2 separate regions of the Homo sapiens genome follow, and region 1 is linked to region 2. The links are contacts of gene promoters, found by promoter capture Hi-C in blood cells and fetal thymus (Javierre and others, 2016). All regions are on one chromosome and are shown on one strand. The core of a region is centred on a gene start or on the middle of the fragment in contact, and the rest is flanking DNA. Distances in the headings are between cores, read along the strand shown. Region 1 overlaps PACS2 (phosphofurin acidic cluster sorting protein 2). Region 2 holds the start of GPR132 (G protein-coupled receptor 132).

Region 1 (5,797 bases), core at 1,733-4,232, 290 kb before region 2:
ATTGGCCAGGCTGGTTTCGAACACCTGACCTCAGGTGATACGCCCGCCTTGGCCTCCCAAAGTGCTGGGATTACAGGCATGAGCCACCGCACCCAGCTTTAGCAATATTTTAAAATTAATGTATGTATATATTTTTTGACGTAATGCTATTGCACACTTAACAGACTACAGTACAGTGTAAACATAACTTTTATATGCACTGAAAAACCACGAAATTTGTGTGACTCACTTTATTTCAATATCCGTTTTTATTGGGGTGGCCTAGAACTGAACACACAATATCTTCAAGGTCAGCCTATATGAGAGACAGCCTCCTGCTCCTAGGCCACAGACCTGTAAAGCATGTTACTGTACTGAATACTGTAGGCAATTGTTACAGATGGTAAGTATTTATGTGTCTAAACACATTTAAACACAGAAAAAGTAGGCTGGGCACGGTGGCTCATGCTTGAAATACCAACACTTGGCCGGGTACAGTGGCTCACGCCTGTAATCCCAGCACTTTGGGAGACCAAGGTGGGCGGATCGCGAGGTCAGGAGATCGAGACCATCTTGGCTAACACGGTGAAACCCCGTCTCTACTAAAAATACAGAAAATTAGCCAGGCGTAGTGGCGGGCGCCTGTAGTCCCAGCTACTCGGGAGGCTGAGGCAGGAGAATGGCGTGAACCTGGGAGGTGGAGGTTGCAGTGAGCTGAGATTGCGGCACTGCACTCCAGCCTGGGCGACAGAGCGAGATTCTGTCTCAAAAAAAAAAAAAAAAAAAAAAGAAAGAAATACCAACACTTTGGGAGGCCCAGATAGACAGATCACTTGAGGTCAGGAGTTCAAGACCAGCCTGGACAACAGGGTGAAACCCTGTCTCCACTAAAAATAAAAAAATTAGTTGGGTGTGGTGATGAGCACCTGTAATCCCAACCACTCGGGAGGCGGAGGAAGGAGAATCACTTGAACCCGGGAGGTGGAGGTTGCAGTGAACTGAGATCGCGCCACTGCACTATAAAAGTGAAACCACATCACGAAAAAAATTTAAAAATAAAAAGCAAAAAAAAAAAAGCACAGTAAAAATAAAGTATAAAAGACATTAAGTGGTGCCTGTGAATAGGGCACTGACGATGGCAGAGCCTGCGGGGCTGGAGGTGGCTCTGGACAAGCTGGTGGGTGAGTGAGTAATGCGAAGGCCTGGGAGGTCACCACGCACCGCCGCGTAGGGGTGGACGTGTGTGTGGATGCGAAGGCCTGGGAGGTCGCCATGCACCGCCGTGTAGGGATGGACGTGTGTGTGACCAGGCCCTGGACACCTGGGCCACACTGAGTTCACACAGGAATAAAGTAACTGTGCTATGGTGTTACGATGGCTACCATGTCATCAGGAGATAGGAAGTGTCCAGTGCCATCATATTCTCACGGGGCCACCCATTGATATGCAGCCCACACCTGACTGGGCTGTCATCAGCAGCCTGTGGCTGTGCAGACACTCATAGAGAGAAACTAAAGGGAATCCAGCATGCAAACGGTCAGGGTGACGCTCCCGCGCTGTCCTTACCCTGAGGTCTTCCTGTGTCCCACCATGAGCCGCCCGCCCCTCACAGGTCCCCTTGGGCTGGACCTGGCCCCAGTGGCATGTGCAGCTTGTGGCGAGGCCACAAGAGGAGTCCGGCTGTGCAAAGAAGCATGGCTGCTCCCTCAGCCACCACCGCACTCCCAGGTCACCCCTTCGCCTGGTCATGGGTCTGTCAACCTTCCTGTCTTGTCGGGGAGCCCACAGGCCCCAGCCTCAGACAATGGCCACCAGCTGGCATGCCTGCGTCTCCCAGGCTGCAGCCCCAGGGTGGTCTGGCCACACGAACGCCCACCCCTACACACTCCCTCTACGGGTGCTGGGGTGAGTTCTGAGAGCCACACCACAGGAGAAGGCCCCACGTCTGCCCCCACCGCACACCTGCCTCTGCGGAGCTGCCTCTGAGAGGGACCACCTGCAGTCAGCTCAAGCTTCCTGAGAAGTGGCAGGCAGAGGCGCGTGCCCAGCAGGCCCTGGGGCTGCGGTCACTCCTGATGGTCCCAGCCAGAACTGCTGGTCAGCCTGCAGACCTAAGCCACCCCACGCCGGCGTCCAGCTCCTGGCACCCATGAGGCCCGGCCCCTACCCTGGGCCACCTTGGACTCCACTTCCTCAGCCTCAGAGTAAGTCCAGGGCTCTGGGCCTCAGCTCACACAGAATGAGTGCCAGGTGAGGGCAGAGCTATGGTGTGGCAGGGGCCCAGGCTGCTCCCAGCCCCTCCTGCCCCCTGCGTGTGCACCCATTTGAAGGGAGATGACACCTGTGTCCCCACAGCCATCGCCTCCTGGTCTCCCCACAGCCTGGAGGTCCTGGGCAGGTGCCCCCCACATCCTCTCCCACCACACTCTCAGCCCTGGCCTCGAGTCCGCCCAACAGCCCGCCTCACCCCACCCTGTGCCCTCAAGGACCCTTCCCCACCGCCGAGCACTACTCTCAAATGCATGGCGCCAGCCTCACCGACACCCCACTCTCACGACAGTCCCTATGGCAGCACCCATGCCCTCACCCCCGTCTCAGGCGTGCAGTCTCGGAGCCAGCAAGCCCCCATGGCACAGCTGCCTGAGCCCAGCTGGTGAGAGCCCCCCACCTCTGCCACCTGTGTCCGTCTGTGCCCTCGGGGCTGTCCCGCCTCCGCAATCTCCCGTGCTCATACTCTCAACAAGCCAGCAACGCTCACAGGTGGGAACCAGCCCCAAAAGGTGGCAGGACACAGGGAGCCCATGAACCGCCCTGGTGCTCGGGGACACATGGGAGGACCCAACTAGGTTCTGGGACCAGGCTGCCAGTGGAAGGTGGAAGGATGCCCCGAGGGCCTGGAGGAGATGCTGGAGGGGAGAGCGAGGAGCAGTCAGATGACCTCGGCTTTGGAAGCCACAGGTGCAGGGCGAGGGAGCCTTGGGGTGGGGGCCACAGGCTCAGGGGCAGGGCACTGGAACTACATCCAGGGGTGGGGCTTTTCTGCCAAGAGTGAAGAACAGATGATGGGATTTCAAGCAGCAGACGATGTGGCTGGTGTGACCTGGGGTGGGGGAAGGTTGCTCCAGCCTCTCCCCGGGGATCAGGAGGGGACAGCCCAAGGCTGGGAGGACAGGTGAGGGAGGGGCCTGGGAGCAGAGGCCAGCATTCAGGGCAAGGACGTCAAACACAGAAGCACCAGTGCTGAGAGGGGCTGGGAGGAGCCGCCTGGGGCACTGGGGTGCAGACTGAGAGATGTGGGCGGAGCAGCCTGGGGCAGGAGCTCACAGGGACCGGCAGGGATCAGCAGGACATCACCTGCATGGCTACACAGGGACCAGCAGGGATCAGCAGGACATCGCCTGCATGGCTAATGGGAAACACAGGGACCGGCAGGGATCAGCAGGACATCGCCTGCATGGCTAATGGGAAACACAGGGACCAGCAGGGATCAGCAGGACATCGCCTGAATGGCTAATGGGAAACACAGGGACCGGCAGGGATCAGCAGGACATCGCCTGCATGGCTAATGGGAAACACAGGGACCGGCAGGGATCAGCAGGACCTCGCCTGCATGGCTAATGGGAAACACAGGGACCGGCAGGGATCAGCAGGACCTCGCCTGCATGGCTAATGGGAAACACAGGGACCGGCAGGGATCAGCAGGACCTCGCCTGCATGGCTAATGGGAAACAGAGCCTGCATGACCTCCCCACAGTGCCTGGACCCTCCTGCTCCACAGGAAGCAAGCGGTGGCTCCCAGGAGGCTCTCACAGCCCAGAGAGCATCCCTGAGCTACCTGTTCACCCATCGCTCAGCCTGCAGGAGGGAGGCTGGGATGATGGGCAGCTCCAGGCCACCAGAGGGGTCCCAGGGCCCTGGGAAGTGCAGCCTGGAGGCCCGGTCCACCCGTGCTGTCCGTGGTTTGCCGAAGGAATCGGGAAGACTGCAAAGCTTGTCTGAGGCCCTGCGGCGGCACGGAGAAGCGAGGCCTCGGGACGCCACTGCTGCTTCCTGTACCCTCCACGCTCCCATCTCCTGGGGTAGCAGGGAGGGCTGAGCCCAGAGTAGTACTTGGCACTTGTCCTGGATGCGTAAGTGGGGGTGTGTGAGGATCTGGGGGACCTAGCGCTTGACCTGGGAGACAGGAGGCCTGCAGGCTGGGCCTGGGGGTGTGGGGGAACCAGCTACAAGTGGGCACCCCCACTGTCCCAGCCCCAAGCCCCAGGAGCAGGGGGACAAAGTGGGAAGAAGAGGGGCTGGGGGGCTCTGGCATCTCCGGCTCCCAATGAGGGGCTGCGCTGGCTGACCTTCCCAGGCCCCAGGCAGGCAGCAACCCAGCTTCACATGCCCCAAGCACCACTCACGCCCGCAGCCCCTGGACCCCTGAACACAACCCCACGATGGGGAAAGTTCTGAAGCAAAAGAGACAAACTGGTCTGGGGCCCTGGGCTGCCCCTTCTCCCAGAGCCAATCTTGCAGCCCCGAAAGGGTCCATGAGAAAGTCCGAGGCCTCAGCCTGGGGTGTCTTCTCCCAGGCCCCCACGCCCTACTGCAGCCTCCTTGGAACGCTGGGTTCTCTGGAGCAAGGTGGGCTGCTGCTTGGCTGTTTCTTTTCCTTTTGAGGTACTTCCCCTTCTTTCCCCTCCAGGGAACTCCAGCCACCCCTCTGACCTCTGGGTGCTGCCCCCGCCCTGCTCGGGTATTGTCGCTAGCCCCTTCACAGAACTGACACCTGTCCTGCTCCTGCTCAGCCAATCCTGGGCCAGAGCACGTGCTGAGCAGGATGCAGACACGAACCCATCACAGGACGCACCCGTGGTGTGGGGACAGCAGCGATTCCTCCATGGGAAGGACTCCAGAGCAGCCTGACCCAAAACCCAGCCTCCACTGAAGGGCAGGACAGGCTCGTTAGAGGGGAGTGCGCGCGGCTGCAGGCATGCGGGGAGCCATGCTAGGCGGCAAGGGAAGGTCAGAGAGGAAGCACCACCTGGGGCCGCACCTGGCCCTTATGGCGGAGCCCGGCCGCCCAGGCTCCTCTCATCATTTTCACCTGATCCCTGGACATCTGGACCCGGGAGAGACATCTCCATCTCCCACGGGCGAATGCTCTGGCACCCAGGTGGCCAGCCCGACGCAGGCCACGCCAGACGGAGCACTCACCTCAGCCATGCTGATGGAGCCCGCGGCCAGCGTCTTGTAGCCCAGGATGGTTCTGTTCTTGTAGCGCTTTCTGCGCTGCAGCATGATCTGAAGCTTGTTGCCTTCCCTCTTCAAGAAGTGAGGATACTGTGGGCACAAGTGCGAGTGGCAGCTGAGGGTGCACCGGGGCCCCAGGCAGCATCACGGCCTCTGACGGCCCAGCCACCCTGCAGCCTGCGACCAGGCCAACCTGCTGCCCATGAGATCGGAAGGGCACCCACAGACGGGCCCCCAAGTTCATCCCAGTGGCATGCCGGTCCCCAGAGCCCATCCTTTACCCAACACAATCAAGAGTGAGCCAGTCGCCAGAGCTCAGGCCCTGAGGGCTCCGCGCCACGCTAACAGCCATGGCAGGTGGACAAGGACTATGTGCTGCAGTGTCCGGGATGGCCGAGCGCGCCTGTGGACACTCGGAAACAGTGTGGCGGCTCATGTGCCTGAGGCAATCAGCAAGGTGGGACCCAGGACGCTTTTCCGCGAGGGGCACACAGGGCGGGGAGGGCTCTCCCTCCGAGGCCCCCTGTTCACCCAACTCGCCTGCACGTCTCACCACAGGCTCCCTGTCCAGCAGGGCTCCAGC
Region 2 (5,842 bases), core at 553-3,052:
CAGGGGCAGGGGAGCCGGTACACGGCTGCCAACCCCCCAGTTCATACCCACAGCTCCTGCCACCCAAGGGACCCAACTTTCCTTTCCCAGACCCCAGTGAAGGACCCAAAGAGAGGATTCAACTGACCTCACTTGAATCGGCTATTCCCGGACTGCCTGGCAAAGGCCAGAAGGCATGGAGGGTGACAATGGCCTGAGCCGGGTCCGCATGTCACTCCTGGACCCCTCACCGGGGGCGCAGAGGAGGCCTGGTGAACGTGACAGACCACCCAGTGGGGCGCAGGACGGGGCAGGTCCTAGGAGGCTGCTGGGGCCAGCGACAGGAACCCACAGCTGTCCCTGGCCATCACCCCCACTGGCCTGATGTGGGCTTCGTCTATTGCTGCTCCGAGGGTGGGGCTGCCCTGGCCCAAAGACCCGGGAGGCCAGTGACCCCATGAGCAGTGGCCTGTGGAGGCGTGTGTTTGCACCAGATCCCCTAGAGGATCACTGTCCCCTGGGCAAGTGTTTCTGGAAAGCCAAGGTAGGCCCTGCCCTGAGACCTGCGCCTCCCCGCCAGGGCAATGGGAAAGCCCAGCTTTCCAGGGACTCCACTGCCACCCACACAAAACCCTCTGAAATCGCTGTTCGGAGGCAGCCTCCAGCCATGCGGCCCTGCAGCAGGGGGCAGCTGTGATCCACGTGTCTGGGGGAAAGTGTAGACTGGGGGCTCGGCCTCCACCGGCCTCTCCTGGCCGTGGGTGTACCCACCCAGGATGGCGGCTTCTTCGCTCAGTGACCGTCCCTGCTGCGGTGCTGGGCAGTGTCGCTTGGAGACATTTGTGGTCCCCAGCTCCTTCCCTCAGCCCGGCCCTGTCCCCACTGCTGAAAGAGCCTGGCTTGGATGGAGCTTGGCAGGCTCGGGAGTGGGCACCAGGGTGGGTCTGTGCCCTGAAACTCAGAAGCAGCCTGGAGGTGAGTGGAGTTGTAGGTGCTGTCCACAGCCAGCTGGCTTTGTCCAAGGAAACTGGGCCCATCATGGCCGGAAGCCCCACAGTGAGGGGGACTGTCCCAGGCAACCCTGCCTGCCCACCCTCCAGTTCCCACAGGGCCCCTCACAGAGAAGCCCACCCGCAGGGCTCCTGGGCCAGGCCAGGCTTGGTTCTGGATGCAGGAGGGGTTGAGGTAGGGCTGGGGGAGGAATGTGGAGTGTGCAGTAGGCTGTTCTTCCCACACGGCCCTGCCCCATGTAGGAAGAGGGAGGCGGGGAGGGGAGGGTGCTTGTGTGCAGTGGCTGTGCCGAGCCTTCCAGGACATGCAGGTGCCATCCTGGTCCCGGGGCTGCAGTGGGCGCACTCAGCCTCTCTACTCCTGGCACCCCGGACAGGGACTCCTGGGAGGACACAGCCTCTGGGAAGTCACCCTGCTCCGTGCTTGCCTGGCCCGAGAGTGGGCAACACCAGGCCTGAGCTGCAGAGGAGCTGGATTTTGTCTTTCCAGGACCCCTCCCTGCAGCCTTTCCAGGACCCCTGTCCTGCCTTGCCTGTCTGGGGACACACGGACAGCCGCTGTGCCGCGCCAGGCCCCAGCACCTGCCTGGGAGCTCCTGAGTGAGTGGAGCCTGGCTCTGAGTGCTGCTATTGCTAAAAGAGGTAAGACTGGGGTTTCCTGCCACTCCCTCCCTCAGGAAGGTGACGAGGCCATGCTGTCATCACCAGTAAGATACCCCAGCCCGGTTGGCTAACCCCTAGCTCAGCCCTGTTTGTGGTTAGGGGAGTTCTAGACAGAACATAATTAGACCCCTGCTACTTCCTGAAACCTCAGCTAGGACTGCAGGGAGGGGTGCGAGGCTAGCCACGCAGGCGGGGCCCTGGGTAAGTCGCTGGGCTCTGCGTGCTGGGGAGTGGGCCTGGGGGGCCAGGCTCTGGGATGGGGCTGGGGGCTGGGAGCTGGAGGCGGGCAGAGGGGGATCTGAAGGCAAAGGTGATTTGTTGGTAAAGATGGAGGCTTTGTTGAGGGTTCTTAATCTGGGGTCCCTCCCGAGAGAACCCAGGACCCCCAGTGACCACAGATGTGATGGGGCCGGAGGATTTGGGGGAGAGGGACAACAGTTTCCATTGTATCTTTGTCACCGCCACCTTCCTGGAGACTTTCTTCTGGAAAAGGCTTCCCTGGCTACTGGTCCAGATGGGGGTGAGTCAGGGGGCTGGACTTTGTCCCTGGAATCTCTCCTTGGCCACTTGCTTCCGTGATTGGTCGGGGGGCACTGAAGGGCTGGGCTTCTCTCTGTGGGGCCTGTGCTGCTTGTGGGGTTACACAGAGGGAAAAGCAGGGCAGTGGGGGCTGTGCTGCGGTGAGTGGCAGTTGGCCCAGTCACGTGACAAGATCCTGGAGCTGGGCAGGTCACCGGCCTTTGGAGTGGCGTTCGGCGCACCAGGCACAGCGGGGCGGGGGGCCCAATACCTTCTGTCAAGTGCATGACGTGGGTCTGTACCACTGCAAGGGACTGGGACTGACCACTGAAGACTGGCCAGTTGGGCTGAGCACAAAATGATATTTCAGGAGATTGGCCAGGCCGAGGTGGGAGAGCAGAGGCTCCTGGAAGAAGATGAGGATAGGGGCTGGGCACGGTGGTTCATGCCTGTAATCCCAGCACTTTGGGAGGCCGAGGTGGGCGGATCACTTGAGGTCAGGAGTTTGAGACCAGCCTGACCAACATGGTGATACCCTGTCTCTACTAAAAATACAAAAATTAGCCGGGCGTGTTGGCACACGTCTGTAATCCCAGCTACTTGGGAGGCCGAGGCAGGAGAATCGCTTGAACCTGAGAGGCGGAGCTTGCAGTGAGCCGAGATCGCGCCATTGCACTCTAGCCTGGGCAACACTATCAAATTGGGAAAAATAAGAAAGTTGACAATGGGCTTTGGATGGGTGTGGTGGAGCAGGGAGGTTGGAGCTGGTGACTCCACATTTCCCTCCCTAGGGTTTGTCTCAAACGTGACGGCAGAAAAGAGGTCATAGGTTTGCCTGGTGCCAAAGCAGGTGGGAGTAAAAGACGGAAATGGCTAGGAATGGCCAGCAACCGTGAAACAGCTTAGAAATTACAGGCAATCCAGCCAGGTGCGGTGGCTTACGCCTGTAATCCCAGCACTTTGGGAGGCCAAGGCAGGTGGATCACCTGAGGTCAGGAGTTCGAGACCAGCGTAACCAATATGGTGAAACCCTGTCTCTACTAAAAATACAAAATTAGCCGGGCGTGGTGGCACACGCCTGTAATCCCATTTACTTGGGAGGCTGAGGCAGGAGACTCACTTGAACCCAGGAGGTGGAGGTTGTGGTGAGCCGAGATCGTGCCATTGCACTCCAGCCTGGGCAACGAGAGCGAAACTCTGTCTCAAAAAAAAAAAGAAAGAAAGAAATTACAGATAGTCCACAAGACAGACCTCAGCAGCCTGAGGAGCTGTTTTTGACAAATGGGCTGGAATGAGGAACTGCTCCCTGCACATGGCAGGGGCCAGGGCTCCTTCTCTGTCCTTTTGTGTCTGTCTGAAAAGTTCCATCATAAGTTACAAAACAGGCTGGGCGTGGTGGCTCACACCTGTAATCCCAGCACTTTAGGAGGCCGAGGCGGGCGGATCACCTGAGGTCAGGAGTTCAAGACCAGCCTGACCAATATGGCGAAACCCCTTCTCTACTAAAAATACAAAAAATTAGCCGGGCATGGTGGCAGGCGCCTGCTAATCCCAGCTACTTCAGAGGCTGAGGCAGGAGAATCACTTGAACCCGGGAGGCAGAGGTTGCAGTGAGCCAAGATCGTGCTATTGCACTCCAGCCTGGGCAACGAGAGAGAAACTCAGCCTAAAAAAAAAAAAAAAGTTACAAAATAGATTTTAAAAGACTGGAGGAGCACAGCAACTTGCAGGCCAGAGAGCTCCAGGGACAGTGGCTGGGTGAGGTCATGCTAGATCCTGTTATTGAAATGTCCATCCCAGGAACATGTGGTGCTTCTCTAATCTGGAAAATGGATTCATTGGCCGGGCATGGTGGCTCACGCCTGTATTCCCAGCACTTTCGGAGACCGAGGCCGGCGGATTTCTTGAGCCCAGGAGCTCGAGACCAGCCTGGGTAACATAGGGAAACCTCGTCTCTAAGAATAAAAGTACAAAAATTAACTGGGCATGGCAGCAGGTGCCTGTAGTCCCAGTTACTCGGAAGGGAGGATGATGTGAGCCTGGGAGGTGGAGGTTTCAGTGAGCAGAGATTTTGCCACTGTACTCCAGCCTGGATGAGGGAGCAAGACCCTGTCTCCAAATAAATAAATAAACAAACAAACAAACAAATAAAGCAAGAGAGAGAGGGAGAGGGTTAGGGAGAGAGAGAGAGAACAATTTTAATAGTATTTAAAGAAAAAAAAGCTGGGCGTAGTGGCTCACACCGTAATCCCAGCACTTTGGGAGGCTGAGGCAGGAGGATCATTGGAGCCCAGGAGTTCAAGACCTGCCTAGGCAACATGGCAAAACCCTGTTTCTACTAAAAATACAAAAAAAGTAGCTGGACGTGGTGGTGTGCCTGTAGTCCCAACCACTCGGGAGGCTGAGGCAGGAGAATTGCTTGAACCTGGGAGGTAGAGGTTGCAGTGAGCCAAGATCGCGCCACTTTACTCCAGCCTGGGCAACAGAGCAAGACTCCATCTCAAAAAAAAAAAAAAAAAAGAAAAGAAAAGAAAAGAAAGAAAAGAAAGAAAAGGCAAAAAAGGCAAAAGAAAAAAAGAAAGAGAAAACATGGGTTCATGGAAGAAGCACGGAAAGTGTGAGGCAGAGCAGCCTCGGAGCTGACACGCTGAGTGGGAGAAAGGCGGGTTGGACACAGGAGAGAGAAGTCCAGGGAGCAGTGGAGGGCTGGCCTCAGTGGGCTGCCAAGGTGTGGCTTGAAGATGGAGCTGGACAGGGACACATTTGCCCAGCATGGAGGCTGGGTGATGAGGGGCTTGGTCATTTGCTGATGTGAGGTGGAGGCAGGGGCCCAGGGCCAGCAGGGACAGGAGATGCAGCTGGAGCTCAGGGATGGGTGGACGGGGGTGTCAGGCTGACCTGGGCCCACACACACTGTGGTCTTGTGGCTGGAGTCATCCGAGGGACCTCACCATGGCCATCATGTCTGGCCACGCTGCCCTGAATCCAGTTGGAGTTGGATGGTGATAGCGGGGCCTCTGCCTGTCATAGTCCCTCAGAGCAGATCAAGAACAGAGTCCCCTGGAGTCCACCAGGCCAGGCTGGCATTGCTGGTGCTGTGAGCATGGTGGGCTATCCCCTACCCAAGCCTCCGGCAGGCTGGGAGCACCTTGCTGCTGTTTCAGAAGTGAAAGTCTGCACCGGGGACCTTTCCCACAGGGCTCAGTCACTCCCACCCACCCCACAGCTGAGAGGAGCCCCACTGGTGGGCCAGACAGCTGGGGCGATGAGAGGAAGGGACGGTCCCCATGCACAGCCCAGGAGGGACTCCCCCCCCCCAGGAGGGTGGTGCCTGCTTCCTGAGTGGAACAACACAGGAAGCCTCTGCCTGGCCTTGTCCTTCCACTTGAAGACCCAGCCCCAGGGGAAGCTGAGAGAGGGCCCGGGCCCCACTGCACCCTCCCCGAGGAAGAGCAGGGCCTGAAATGTGGGTGACCTGCTGTACCCCACGCCCCTTTCTGTGGAGGAAACAGCCCTGGCCCCGGGCCAGGACAGACCGCGACACTGCAGCTGGCGGGTGGGGCCACTGGGCTGGCCGGAGAGAGGGCCCTGAGCCCCTATCCTGAGCTCACTCACCCCGAGGGGAGGCAGAGGCTCCCAGGGGCAGTAGGAGTAGCAGGTGCGGCAAAAGG

The links. The method cuts DNA at HindIII sites, captures the fragments that hold promoters and counts their contacts. A CHiCAGO score of 5 or more calls a contact.
Region 1: a contact is called between a fragment that was not itself captured here and the fragment with the promoter of GPR132 in region 2, in 2 of 17 cell types (non-activated CD4 T cells and naive CD4 T cells). The highest score is 5.5, in non-activated CD4 T cells.

The regions. Positions count from the first base shown.
Region 1 is chr14:105,354,559-105,360,355 of GRCh38, reverse strand. PACS2 (phosphofurin acidic cluster sorting protein 2) reads right to left here. Exons shown (of 25, transcript NM_001100913.3): 4 at 5,179-5,304. Among named protein-coding and RNA genes, the nearest start is that of TEX22, 41 kb to the left of the region's middle. The HindIII fragment of the contact is 1,978 bases long and covers 1,994-3,971 here.
Region 2 is chr14:105,061,390-105,067,231 of GRCh38, reverse strand. It overlaps GPR132 (G protein-coupled receptor 132), which reads left to right and starts at 1,802. Exons shown (of 4, transcript NM_013345.4): 1 at 1,802-1,853. RefSeq lists enhancers at 654-723, 934-1,103, 779-1,296, 2,974-3,113, 3,224-3,323 and 3 more. The HindIII fragment of the contact is 11,012 bases long and covers 1-5,842 here.